5 separate regions of the Homo sapiens genome follow, and regions 1, 2, 3 and 4 are each linked to region 5. Evidence: promoter capture Hi-C in 16 types of primary human blood cells and fetal thymus (Javierre and others, 2016). All regions are on one chromosome and are shown on one strand. The core of a region is centred on a gene start or on the middle of the fragment in contact, and the rest is flanking DNA. Distances in the headings are between cores, read along the strand shown.

Region 1 (2,736 bases), core at 224-2,723, 260 kb after region 5:
ATCGAGTCTACAGGATTATGGCTGTGGGAAAGCAAACACAAGGCTAGAGAAGACAATGGCAAAGAGTGTCTAAATCCCCTTTGTTAACTTTTAAATATTGACTCATGAAAAGCAAACTTTGAGCAGGGTTTATAGTACAGGTTTCAACACAAAGAAAGCTTTTTATAGCTATTATAAGTTTAGAAAGAAAGAGCATATACAACCTAATAAGAGCAGTGTCAGAAAATGTTTTAATGTCTTCAATGACTTTATTCAGCATAATAAGATTGAAACAAGCTTACTTCCCTAACCAAAACACATTCTGCTCTGCTGAATACTGTTATTATACTGTCACTAACAAGCAGGGAAATGATGAAATAGATTCACAAAACAACAAACACCAAAAAAAGATTTTAAGGAAGAAAATGCTCCAAGAGCATTGGAATTACATGGGCTTTAGAAACAAACTAGAAGTGAAGTCAGGGTCAGACATGAAACCCACCAATTATAACAAGCCCTCTTTGCCTCTAGAAGTTTGAATTGTATTGCTAATTGAAAATCACAAATCCATTCCAGATGTGTGCTACATATAAGTAAGCAGCTTGTCTTTGATGAAAAAAGCTCAGGGCGATAGAGATAAAGAAAATAAATCTCACCAAAAGCAGTCAGAGGCTCCTTACAGTTTTTGCAAACTGCCCTGGAGTACAATCTAAGTACACTCAGAGTTCTCTATCAAGAGTCTGATAGTCTCCTGTTTCCCTTTTGTGTAAAATCCCAGGCTGGACAGAACTGCACACACAATTGCAGGTGCTAGTCTACTGCATGTCCAAACCTCCTAGACACCTTCCTACTTCTCAGACCCCTGTTCTCATTCCCAGCCTGAAGCCAGAAAGGGCAGAAAATCCAAACCCTTGGTAATTTGCCAAACACATATTTGCTTAGAAAGTAGCTGGGAGTTTATCATGAGGTAGACTGGCTGAGGAGGAAACTGTCCAGCAATCTTCATTCTGACATTTGCTACAGCAATTCAATGCTTATTTAGGCCAAAATGAACAGAATCAAGAGCATGTAGATGCCTGGCGAATGCTCACCATGTCATAGAACCCTTTACAGAGGACTTGCAGCTATGCCATTAACTTCCCAGGTCTAAATCTAATTCATCTAACTTAGTGCTGGACTTTTAAAATTACATAGGTAATTTTTTTCTTTTTAAAATTACATAGGTAATTTTTTTCTTTTTAAAATTACATTGGTAATATATGACATCAAAGAAAAAGTCCAGGTAAGCCATGAAAAACATATCTTATCATCCAGGGCAATCACTCTTAACACATGTATTGCATACCATCTCCAAGAACTTTTCCCATGTAAACATACACAAATGCGGGGCTGGGCGCGGTGGCTCACGCCTGTAATCCCAGCACTTTGGGAGGCCAAGGCGGGTGGATAACGAGGTTAGGAGATCGAGACCATCCTGGCTAACATGGTGAAACTCCATCTCTACTAAAAAATACAAAAAATTAGCCGGGCGTGGTGGCGGGCACCTGTAGTCCCAGCTACTCGGGAGGCTGAGGAAGGAGAATGGCGTGAACCCGGGAGGCGGAGCTTGCAGTGAGCCGAGATTGTGCCACTGCACTCCAGCCTGAGCGACAGAGCAAGACTCCACCTCAAAAAAAAAAAAAAATACACAAATGCACAACAAAACTCTGACTTCCTTTTAACTAAAATGGAATAGAATAAGTATTGCTCTGTAACTAGTTTTCCCACTGAACAATTCATCATGTATAACTTAGTAGAGACTTTGTTTCAAAGAAGGCTCAACCACTGCTTGCTGCAATTGGGGATCAAAAACGACTGACCTGGACGACCAACCCATGTAACCCACAGGTCAGTTTTCCTTCTCGGAAACTCCACGTCTGAGTTGTGCTTCGCCTGCGGTCAGGCTTTCTCAGCATCAGTGGCTCGTATCTGGAAAACGGAATACACAATGAACCATGAAACCTCCGAGTCAACTGTTTCACGCCTGAAGGGAACATGAGGATGATGGCTTTGCTCTTCTTCCTTCTAATGCCCTCCACCCTTAAAACTGAATGGGTAGTTAGCTTGAATCCTAGGGCAGTTAGGTATCTCTTGATAAGAAAAGAGGAATAAAGCAAAATGGAAAAACATGAAGAGGGGACACAAAGTAAGACATTAAAGATTTCATAACACACAGTAATATGGCTTCTTGCATTCTCAAAACGGCAACTTACCATGCAGTATGGAAGGAATAGCTGCTAAATACATGTAAAATCTTTCCAACAGTCTTTTTTCTGTTGTATTTCTAAATTCTTTTCTGTTCTAACTTGTAAGTCAACTAAAGTTTTTCTGGAAATAAGGTATTAACTGAAAACACACTGATTTTTATGGAGAAACTAAGGCACAGGCAAATCAAGTAACTTATTCAAACTTAAAGAGCTAATTTGAATCCAAGGATTTATTCATAAAAATACATCTGATTATTCTCTTAATAATTAATTTCTGCTTTTGAAGGATTTGACAAAGTTATTAGGAAGATGTAAAAAAGAAACTACTTCCTCAGAATAAGGACGGACTGGAATTTGGGTGGAAGAAATAATCACTTTTCACATTATACCCATTTTATTGTTTGAAGTTTCTTAACATCTGCATGGGTATTTCATCAAAGCTTAAAATATTTAAAGGGAAAGCCCAATACTCATATTTGGGAATATGACAGGTTTTTGTCATTGAAAAAAA
Region 2 (2,700 bases), core at 104-2,603, 280 kb after region 5:
TGTTCCCTAAAACACATAGGATCACAGGCTTTAGTCAACAAGTCGATTCATGACAATAAGTGTTACTGAGTACCTACTCTGAGCCTTACCCTCTAACAGGAGCTATCTGGGTACCAAAGGCACAGAGCAGTTACTTGCATCACAGAACGTACAGTCTTCACAGAAGATGACATTAAAACTCGTGCTATTAAATAGGCACTCTCATCCTTCAAAAGCAAACTGCTCACCTGTCCCCTGGCAAATTCCCTCTGTGCAAATGCAAGCTTGTGAGATGATTTATTATCTAACAGGTAACGGGGGGCAAAGATGACCATGCAGGTATCAATGTATCGACCTCGGCCTTTCTTGACATCAATACCTACAAATAACAAGAACCACTTTTATGAGTTAACCATGAAGAGAGAAAACTCTTGGTCTGACAAAAATAAATAACCTTCACAGTTACTTAGTTTCTCTGAGAAAATAACTGTATCACCCAGAGGATATTGAACCTTCTAGGAATGTAATGAAAACAGCAATTGTACTCAAAGTATTATTACTCCTTATTCCCATTTAGGCCTTAAAAAGGTTCAGAGGCAAGATCAACATCCCCTTAATTCCTAGTTTCTTCACACAGTGTGTACCATTTAACAGCAACTAAAATACACAGGTGTCCAGTCACATATATGTTAGGTTTCCATTTATGAAGCTGAATACTTACAACAGTTTCACATGATACTTTTTGGCTTACACCTGGGACACAAAATTTCCTTCTAGAGAACCTGCCACTTTTACAGATACAGTGGAAATTTCAGATTACTTTCTTGGATTCTGTAATGTTCTAAACTTTACTGACTCTTCTCCAGTATTTTATTTTAGCCCATTGCCCAAGAATCCAGCTCAAACATAATGCTAAGTACTATAGAACTTATTCATGGCCGGGTGTGGTGGCTCATGCCTGTAATCCCAGCACTTTGGGAGGCCGAGATGGGTGGATCATTTGAGGTCAGGAGTTCAAGACCAGCCTGGCCAACATGGCGAAACCCCATCTCTACTAAAAATACAAAAATTAGCTGGGCATGGTGGCACGCACCTGTAGTCTCAGCTACTCGGGAGGCTGAGGCAAGAAAGAGAATTGCTTGAACTTGGGAGGCAGAGGTTGCAATGAGCCAAGATTGCACCATTACACTCTAGTCTGGGTGACAGTGTGAGACTCCGTCTCAAAAAATAAATAAATAAAAGAATTTATTCATCTATAAAATTACTGTTTTCAGCGCCTACTATGTATTAGGAAAAAATAAGAAAACAGTCCAAAGGAAATCTCAAGACAGCCGGTTCCAAATATAGAAAAGCACTGAAATATCTTAAAAACTCTGATAACAATTTTTAAAAATAAAAAATTCAGGCCGGGCGTGGTGGCTCACGCCTGTAATCCCAGCACTTTGGGAGGCCGAGGCGGGCGGATCACGAGGTCAGGAGATCGAGACCATCCCGGCTAAAACGGTGAAACCCCGTCTCTACTAAAAATACAAAAAATTAGCCGGGCGTAGTGGCGGGCGCCTGTAGTCCCAGCTACTTGGGAGGCTGAGGCAGGAGAATGGCGTGGACCCGGGAGGCGGAGCTTGCAGTGAGCCGAGATCCCGCCACTGCACTCCAGCCTGGGCGACAGAGCGAGACTCCGTCTCAAAAAAAAAATAAATAAATAAATAAATAAATAAATAAATAAAAATAAAAATAAAAAATTCAGTGGGATGAATTTATTCACTCATTCATTCAGACAATAAATACAGCAATGACATTCAACGTACTGGGCTGAGCTCTGGTCACCCATTGATAAAAATATTTATCATAGAAATAATAAAAATAACAACAACAACAACAATAATAATAATTACTGGTCTCTTAATACATGCTAGGTCCTCCCCCAAAGGCTTTACACTGAATCCCCATAACAACCTTCTAAGTTAGATATTTTAATTATTTCCATTTTATAGATGAGGAAACGAAGGCATGGAAAGCTAAGTAACTGACTCTATGTCACGCAGCTAGTATGTGCCATAACTGGGATTCAAGTCCAGGCAGTCAGCCTCCGGAGCAGCACCCTCATCAGGCTTGCTTGTATTGTGATGCGACATATACAAGGACTGCACTCCATTCAGCAGTCATCAAGTATCAAGAGAACCATTAAAATAGAAAACTCCACCTTAGCATTTGACAACCGGCTGTCATAGATTTCTCAACACAATCCCAATTATAAATATTCCAATCTGTAAATGCCGTAATTCACTTAAACTGGCTTGAAAATGCTGATGTTCCTTTAACACAAGCCTTGAAAATACCTGAAAGACTGAGAAAAGTCACACACAAAAATCTCTCTAAAACTCTGTATCTAAGAAATGCTATGTAATATTGGGATATGGAACTATACCCTATCACTTCTTTCTGTGACATGCAGAGAAGCTTTCATTGTCAGAAATCAACATTATCATAGTTAGGTGATATCTAATAAAAAGTCTAACTACAAAAGATGTATCTAATTTAATATTATAAAAAGAGTCTAGGGTACTCTGAACAATACAGACACTCAATCTTTGGAAAAAGGTGGGCTTCTTTCCCCCTTCACATCTTATATTGCCCTGGGAAACCCCTGATAAATCAATAAGTTGATAAGATCAACAGGCACAAAATCGTTCTTTTTGGAGATCCATGTGAGGCTACCTG
Region 3 (2,700 bases), core at 9-2,508, 310 kb after region 5:
ATTCAATGAAGTGCCACACCGCCCAGGTTTACCTGCAAAATCTCAGCCCTGACTGAACAAAGCCAACAATTTTGTCAAAAGGAGGCTGGTATTTTCTTTCCCCTGATAAAGAAACAGTGAGAAAGCAGCAGGTCCCTTAGGCTAAATTTCATGTTAAGGGCTATTCCCAAGAGCTTGTTTTAAGGCCAGTCTGAATAAAAAGCATAACTTTTGTAGGAATATGACTTACTATTCTTGAATAAGACCTGAAAGTTTATGATTAGTTCAACAAGGTTGAACCCTACTCACTTTCAAAATAAATTCCCAATGATCATTTTAGTAGGCCTGCTAAAAGAATACAATCCTGGAATGTACTGTACTACCATCCAGGAATTTCCAATAAGAAAAGAGGTTTGGAAATTTATGCATATTCAAGTTATGTCTTATTAAAAAGATAGATTACACTTTTATAAGCCTAAGTAATCATAAAAATCTTTAAATAAATAAAAATCAAGCTTTAACTCAGCACCAGCATTTAATATAGATGAGGAAGCCTTTTAACTATAGAGAAAGAGAGAGGGACAAAAATTTTAAAAAGGAAGGAAGAAAGGGAGGCAGGGAGGGAAGAAGGAAAGAAGAAAGAGAGGGACAAGAAAATCTTTCATCAGAATCTTGCAGACCAGGCCTTGCTAGAGTTTGACTCTGAATTGAAGATGCCCCTGCATGAATAATGTTTTAGAAACACACTCTCTTGGACATATTACAAAGATTATTTAGAGTCTTCTGGGTAGACTATGTTACATTTTCTTGACACACAAATTGGGAAGGTTGGAGGAGGAGCTAAAATCAAAGCTGACAATATCTGAAAAGCCCTGGCTCCTAAGTAATGACCTTGAGACTCAGAAGCAACAGCCTGGGAAAACAGAGAACAAGCACAGCTGACATTTCTTTGTGTCTCTTTCTAGAAGTACAAGGCAGACAGAAAGTCCACTTATTCACCCTGAGGAGAGATGAACCAGTACAATTACTTCACACACTAAGAACACCCAATCTTCCCATGACACGTTTGCAGACCAGATGGAATATTTAAGTATTCATGAGCTATGTGAAGTCCAGCCAAGACTCCCCAAAGAAACCACATTGTAAGAGTTGGAGCTGAGTTGAATTTGGATGACAATGGCTTGTGGAACAACTAAGACCATGCAGTTGTCCATCACCATCTCCCCAGCTCTGAGGAAAACAGAGCTGGCGAGGCATTAAATAAGGAAAGAAAGCATCATCAATAGAGAGCAAGCTGACTCCTCTTTCTTCAAGAGGCAGGGCATTCAATTCTTTTATACTCTATGAACAGCACAGGGCTCCCTTTTTAACAACTTTTTCCACATGGGCTCCTGCTCGCCCTCTTTTCAAGAATATGTCCAAACCCTCTATCTCTAGATTTAGAAGACCATTTTAGATGCTTTTAAAAATCTGGCCAAAAAAATCCGATCAATTAGAAAACCAATGTTTTGCAGAGTAAAACACAAACCACAGCTGATCCTGATGCATTCTCAGGTGCACCAGTTCATATGCATTATTACCAGGATTTAGGAATTACGTGTTGCAGATCTTTTCTCCCCCGCAAAGGTGGAATTACAGCCCACATTTATAAGTTCAGTAGTTCATGCCAGAAAACTGTCTCCTGCAAAGACTAAAACAGAACTACAGAAGATAGTCAGAATTTCCTGTAGGTTTTTCCACGCAGAATGATGGTTCCATTTGAATTTCTCAGTGAAGCATTGCTTTGTAGGTCAAAAGTGATTTAGTTAAACACATGTAGTGAAAACTCTTACTTTGTCCAAAACATGGAGGATCCACCGAAGAGCCCATCCAGTCTTCTGATTTAGCTGACTCTATGTCCTTGTCATCTTTACAGTAATCTGCCATCCACGATTCCTTGGTACTTACATACTGGTCTAGAAAGAATCCCCCAGAGATATTAAGAGAACTAAAAAAGATGGAGGGTTCGAGTCAAATAATTTCAATTCAGCAAAACAAGCTTTTATTGAGTGTCTCATTACATGCCTGGCCTGTGCTAGATTCCGAGAAAGTCTATGCCCTGGAGAGCCTCACGCTCCACTGAAAGAGATTACCATGAATAGACAACCATCGCCACAAAACTCTATCATAATGTGAAAGACATTAAAGATGTGGATTCTCTTCAAACCAATCTATAGATTCAATAAAATCCCCATCAAAATACCCATAGGGCATTTTGTGGAATTTTAAAAGCTGAATCTAAAATTTATATGGAGGCCGGACGCGGTGGCTCACGCCTGTAATCTCAGCACTTCGGGAGGCTCAGGCAGGCGGATCACTTGAGTCCAGGAGTTTGAGGCCAGCCTGGCCCACATAGCAAAACCCCATCTCTACTAAAAATACAAAACTTATGTAGGCGTGGTGGCGTGCACCTGTAGTCCCAGCTACTCAGTAGGCTGAGGCAGGACAATCGCTTGAACCTAGGAGGTGGAGGTTGCAGTGAGCCGAGATCATGCCACTGCACTCCAGAGGCTGAAATTCAGCAGACAATTCTCCACAAGTAGTTTTACTTCTGTGAGAGAATTACAATGGGGATAGCAGGTTAACAAAAACAATTACAGTGCACCACACCTAGATGAAGATCTTTTATACTAATTAAGATGTTATACTTTTTGGAAGAAGAATTATTGGTTTCTGGTTTTC
Region 4 (2,700 bases), core at 103-2,602, 350 kb after region 5:
ACTTTTAGAGCTACATGGAAGCTCAGAAATGTTCTAATGATTCAGTCCCCTTAATATATAGAAAAACTGATGCACGAAGACTGCATGACTTGTCTCAGGACATACACCAAGTTCGTGGAAAACCAGCAAGAGAGCCCAGGGCTTTTAATAATCAGAAATATTCAATCATACCCTATCTGGGGTGGGTGTGCGTGTGTGTGTTGAGACAAGGCCCCCCTCCATCACCCAGGCTGGAGTGCAGTAGCACAGTCATGGCTCACTGCAGCCTCCAACTCCTGGGATTAAGGGATCCTCCCACCTCAGCCTCTCAAGTAGCTAGAACTACAGTTGCATACCACCACACACAGACGGCTTTTTTCTTCTATAGAGACAGTGTCTATGTTGCCAAGGGTGGTCTCGAACTCCTGGCTTTAAGCAATCCATCTGCCTTGGCCTCCCAAAGAGCTTAGATTACAGGCATGACCCACCGCACCTAACTCATACCCCATCTGTTTATGAAGCTTTAAGTAGCCCACTTCAACACAGATCCATTTTAATGAAATTTAAAGTCAGGAAGAACTCCTCATAACCATAACTTCTCAATTTCACCTCTAAGAAGGTAAAAATTTTTAAAAGTTTTCTTTATTGTCTAGCCAACAAGAATCTGAAACAGCAAGTATTATGATAAAATATCAAGTCAGAAAAAGATTGACATTTTTACTTAAAAGTCTGGAAGATGAGTGCTTCTTCACCACTGGTAGTGAACCGTTCTCTGTAGAACTCTCCATGGCATGTGAGGTCACTTAGAGACAGACTCCCAATGCTGCCCTGTAAGGCCAGGTCTCCCTCTAGGGATGATAAAGTTAGAACACATTACTATGTATCCTTTTTTGTCACACAACTTAAATATGTCTGGAACAAAAGCTGGTATACACATGCCTCAGACTTTTCACTTTGTAATCAAACCTCAAAAGCAAATTTTCATATTCCAATATACCCCAAAAAATATTTTATGCAATATTTAAAACAAAGTCTCAATGCAAAAAAGGAAAAAAAAAGTCTCAATGCAGAAGTCCAAAGGGGACTGAAATAATACAGCAACATTACATTTTTTTTTTTTTTTTAGACAGAGTCTAGCTCTGTCGCCCAGGCTGGAGTACAGTGGCGCGATCTGGGGTCACTGCAAGTTCTGCCTCCCGGGTTCACGCCATTCTCCTGCCTCAGCCCCGCCGAGTAGCTGGGACTACAGGTGCCCACCACCATGCCTGACTAATTTTCTGTATTTTTAGTAGAGACGGGGTTTCACCGTGTTAGCCAGGATGGTCTCGATCTCCTGACCTCATGATCCGCCCGCCTTGGCCTCCCAAAATGCTAGGATTACAGGTGTGAGCCACCGCGCCCGGCAACATTACATATTTAAAGGATAAAACCTTTATAAATACAGACAGAAACTTGATGCTTTCTGAGATGAGACCACTAACTAGAAATAAACATCATTAGGTCTATTAATTATACTCTGGATAAAAGAATAAAGGAGGACGTGTCAGAAACATGTTAGGTATTCAAGCAACATTAAGCATGTTTTAGTATGATTTAATGAAAGACCAAAATTAATGAGGTAGATAGGCACTGGAGACACAGATTTGAAACTACTCTGATATATGAGTGAAGTTTCTGGAAGGTGGAAAGAAGAAAGAAGACGTGACTGAAACATGTACGACTAGAATGTGAATCTATAATGAGTCATTATTAACACTGTATGGATACTAAAAAGGAATATTCTGAACCGTTGCCTCTGTAAAACAAAATTTATTATCATAATTATCGTGATAAAACAATTACTAAGGTATATTTGGCATGCTAGTTCAGCTCCCAATGAATTGAAAACACAATTTTTTTTTTTATTTTTTGAGACAGGGTCTCACTCTGTCGCCCAGGCTACAGTGCAGTGGCACAATCATGGCTCACTGCAGCCTTGACCTTCCAGGCTCAAGCAATCCAACCACCTCAGCCTCCTGAGTCGCTGGGACTACAGGCACTGGCCATCACAACTGGTTAATTTTTACTATTTTTGTAGAGATGAGGTCTCACTATGTTGCCCAGGCTTGTCTCAAACTCCTGACCTCAGCCTCCCAAAGTGCTAGGATTACAGGCGTGAGCCACCGTGCCCAGCCACATACTTATTTTAGATACCTAATGTCTTCTAACAAAAATAACCAAGCTTTTACCAATCTTAAAGGCCATTAACAGGAATACGCTGTAAGAAGGAAAAAAAAAAAAAAGCCAATCTCCTCTAAGAAGCTTTTCTAAAATAATTGCACAAGGCATGAAACCTCAGCCTCAGTTCATTCCTTCCCCAAAAGACATTCTTGTTTTTACTACAGCATCAACATGAGCTTTGTAATCTTTGATAATTAGGAAAGGAAAAATGTTTTACTTCACATTTCATAAATCTCTACTAAAGGCTGGGTACGGTGGCTCACGCCTGTAATCCCAGCACTTTGGGAGGCCAAAGTGGATGGATGGTTTGAGTCCAGGAGTTTGAAACCAGTCTGGCCAACATGGCGAAACCCTGTCTCTATAGTTTAAAAAAATAAGTTAAAATATTATTTTTTTAAAATCCTACTATTTAGAACCTGATGTAGTTGATCACTTGTATTCAACTAAGAATTTTAACTTACAAAGTCCCATTAGAGAGAATGCTGGCCAGGTGCTGTGGCT
Region 5 (2,700 bases), core at 3-2,502:
GAGAGGAAGGAAGAACGGAACAAAAGGAGGGAAGGAAGGAAGGTAGGAAGGAAACAAGGAAGGAAGGGAGGGAGGGAGGGAGGGAGGGAGGAGGGAAGGAAGAAAGGAGATAGGGAGGAAGGAAGAAGGGAAAGAAGAAAGGAAGGAGGGAGGGAAGGAAGGAGATAGGAAGAGAGAGAATGAAGGAAGGAGGGAAGGAGGAAGGAAGGAGGGAGGGAGAGAAAGAAAGAAGGAAAAAGGAAGGAAAGGAGCGGAGAAGGAGGGAAGGAAGGAAGGGAGGGAGGGAATGAAGGAGATAGGGAGGAAGGGAGAGAATGAGGGAAGGAGGAAGGAGAGGGAAGGAGGGAAGGAAAGAAGGAAAAAAGAAAGGAAAGGAGGGAGAGAAGGAGGGAAGGAAGGGAGGGAGAGAGGAAGAAAGGCAGGCAGGCTATGGGAAGGGGGAAGGAACGGAGGGAGGGAAGAGAGAGGCAAACAGAATAGCAGATACAGAAGAGACAAGTCTATCTTGAGGGAGTCCGAAGAGAGAGAGACAGAAGGGAAGTGAAAGAGGGAAAAGAGGGTAAGGTACTGAGAACAAGAGAAGAAGCCCCCAGGTTACGACGTGGCCTGAGAGTAAACTCACCAAAGTGACCAGGTAGAGGAATATGCAATGCAGGAATCTCAACTTGGCAGGATGCTGCAAGGTAGCAGGGATATCCGTGGTGAGGAAGTGCTCAAAGACAGCCCAGACAAAGACCCCCAGGAAAAAGATGGGCAATGCCAAGAGTAGCACTAGCCAGGGGACAGCCATGTTCCTGGGGCCTTGAGGAGCTGCTGCCCTGAGGAGCTTGTCTGATAGCTTATGTGAAGAGGACCTGGCTGGGTTACACCCTCCGCCTCCTCCACCTCACTCTCTCTGGGCTAAGCCTGACACCTGACACAGTGGCCTGACACAGCTTCTCAGGGTAAGCACAAAAAGGCCAATGGGAGGTGGAGGAACCTATTTCCCTAAGCAATGTGGGGACCCAGAAAAATCAATACTGCTCATCATGGGGAGTCTTGGAAGGTGAGCTTCCCAAAGATTTCAGGAAGATCAGGCTCAGATGGGCACCTCGGCTCCTGGGAACCCTAGAAAGAGATCTCATATGGGTTATATAGGCCTCCAGGGCCTGATCTTTCAACTGTAAGATAAGAGACTTCGCCAGCTTTCCTTGTCAGAGTGTGGTTAGGGTGAGCACAGCACGTCTCACCCCAGCTCCCTAGCTAGCTTCCCTAACCCCAGTTTTGTTTTGTTTTTTGAAACAAGGTCTCACTCTGTCACCGCCTATGTACCCTCTGGGCCTCTGGCCAGATCAGGGCAAAGACTGGCGTGTTTTCTGGTAGTCATAATCTTCTGGGGTCCTGGGACGGGAGACAGGAATGCCATTGCAGGCAAAACTGGGCTTTATCCAGCCTCATATTCCGCCTCTAAAAATGGTGCCAAGGGCTGGTTTGGGGACAATTTTTATCCACGTTACTTTCTTCTAAGAGAGAAAGAAATGATTGGAACCATTTCAGGAAATAGGCTTTGAGCCTGAAAATTTTAGAAATTTTAATTTGGGCCGAGCACGGTGGTAATCCCACCTGTAATCTCAGCACTTTGGGAGGCTGAGCTGGGAGGATCACTTGAGGCCAGGAGTTCAAGACCAGCCTGGCCAACAGGGTGAAACCCCCTCTCTACCAAAACTACAAAAATTAGCCGGGCATGGTGGCACATGCCTGTAATCCCAGCTACTCGGGAGGCTGAAGCTGGAGAATCGCTTGAACCTGGGAGCTGGAGGTTGCAGTGAGCCGAGATCGCACTACTGCACTCCAGCCTGGGCAACAGAACGAGACTCTGTCTCAAAAAAAAAAAAAAAAAAAAAAAAAAGGGAGAATATAGAAACTATACATATAAGAAAATACCACTACCCTTAGGGCTTAAATAGAGCACCCAAGAAAGACCCCGTTTCCACCCATAGGGATGAGACCCAGCTCTTGTTGGAAAGGGCATAGTGTGAATTTGCTGAACTGGCAAAGAAGTTGCTCAACTGCTACACCAGGGGGACTCACTGGTGTCTTCCTCTTGACACACACACTCAACAAATTTGCTGAAAATCTGCTCCCTTGGGTGCTAGGGAAAGCCATTTATTCACAGGGAGGTGTTTTACTGGAGGCACTCTGAAGTGAAACCACCCAAGGGGACTGGAAGGGAAAGTTATTAACCTCCGAGTGCTGCAGGAGCTTGGAACTAGAAGGCAGACCCCCTTTTTCATTCCTATTATTTATGTTTTAGGTTTTTGGTTTTTTGTTTGTTTGTTTGGTTTGTTTCAGAAAACAAAAGTTATAGAAGAGGCTTTACCCCAGTGAGTATATGCATGGCAGATTTTTGTGTTTTTACGTCATTGTATCTTTGTAAGAGTTTACTTAGGTTTCTCTTAGAGGGTTATAAGATTCACTATTCTGGCTAGGTGTAATTATCTTTTGTCGTTGTTGTTTGTTTGTTTGTTTTTTGTTTTTTTTTTTGAGATGGAGTCTCGCTCTGTCACCCAGGCTGGAGTGCAGTGGTGTGATCTCAGCTCACTGCAAGCTCCGCCTCCCAGGTTCACGCCATTCTCCTGCCTCAGCCTCCGGAGTAACTGGGACTACAGGCGCCCCCCACCACGCCCGGCTAATTTTTTTGTATTTTTAGTAGAGACGGGG

What was found. The method cuts DNA at HindIII sites, captures the fragments that hold promoters and counts their contacts. A CHiCAGO score of 5 or more calls a contact.
Region 1: a contact is called between a fragment that was not itself captured here and the fragment with the promoter of AADACL4 in region 5, in 16 of 17 cell types (total CD8 T cells, M1 macrophages, M2 macrophages and 13 more). The highest score is 14.3, in total CD8 T cells.
Region 2: a contact is called between a fragment that was not itself captured here and the fragment with the promoter of AADACL4 in region 5, in 13 of 17 cell types (non-activated CD4 T cells, activated CD4 T cells, naive CD8 T cells and 10 more). The highest score is 12.2, in non-activated CD4 T cells.
Region 3: a fragment that was not itself captured here is called in contact with the fragment with the promoter of AADACL4 in region 5 in 16 of 17 cell types (naive CD4 T cells, non-activated CD4 T cells, naive CD8 T cells and 13 more); the score reaches 23.1 in naive CD4 T cells.
Region 4: a fragment that was not itself captured here is called in contact with the fragment with the promoter of AADACL4 in region 5 in 16 of 17 cell types (naive CD4 T cells, activated CD4 T cells, non-activated CD4 T cells and 13 more); the score reaches 18.7 in naive CD4 T cells.

Annotation. Positions count from the first base shown.
Region 1 is chr1:12,378,699-12,381,434 of GRCh38, reverse strand. VPS13D (vacuolar protein sorting 13 homolog D) reads right to left here. Exons shown (of 70, transcript NM_015378.4): 57 at 1,839-1,947. Among named protein-coding and RNA genes, the nearest start is that of SNORA59A, 130 kb to the left of the region's middle. The HindIII fragment of the contact is 2,389 bases long and covers 279-2,667 here.
Region 2 is chr1:12,360,378-12,363,077 of GRCh38, reverse strand. VPS13D (vacuolar protein sorting 13 homolog D) reads right to left here. Exons shown (of 70, transcript NM_015378.4): 51 at 228-358; 52 at 1-6. All of the region lies in intron 1 of LOC124903845 (a long non-coding RNA gene), which reads left to right. Among named protein-coding and RNA genes, the nearest start is that of VPS13D, 130 kb to the right of the region's middle. The HindIII fragment of the contact is 2,176 bases long and covers 266-2,441 here.
Region 3 is chr1:12,334,939-12,337,638 of GRCh38, reverse strand. It overlaps VPS13D (vacuolar protein sorting 13 homolog D), which reads right to left. Exons shown (of 70, transcript NM_015378.4): 39 at 1,812-1,934. Among named protein-coding and RNA genes, the nearest start is that of VPS13D, 110 kb to the right of the region's middle. The HindIII fragment of the contact is 1,523 bases long and covers 497-2,019 here.
Region 4 is chr1:12,289,125-12,291,824 of GRCh38, reverse strand. VPS13D (vacuolar protein sorting 13 homolog D) reads right to left here. Exons shown (of 70, transcript NM_015378.4): 23 at 701-827. Among named protein-coding and RNA genes, the nearest start is that of VPS13D, 60 kb to the right of the region's middle. The HindIII fragment of the contact is 1,700 bases long and covers 503-2,202 here.
Region 5 is chr1:12,642,637-12,645,336 of GRCh38, reverse strand. It overlaps AADACL4 (arylacetamide deacetylase like 4), which reads right to left and starts at 1,252. Exons shown (of 4, transcript NM_001013630.2): 1 at 623-1,252. The coding sequence starts at 790. The HindIII fragment of the contact is 15,531 bases long and covers 1-2,700 here.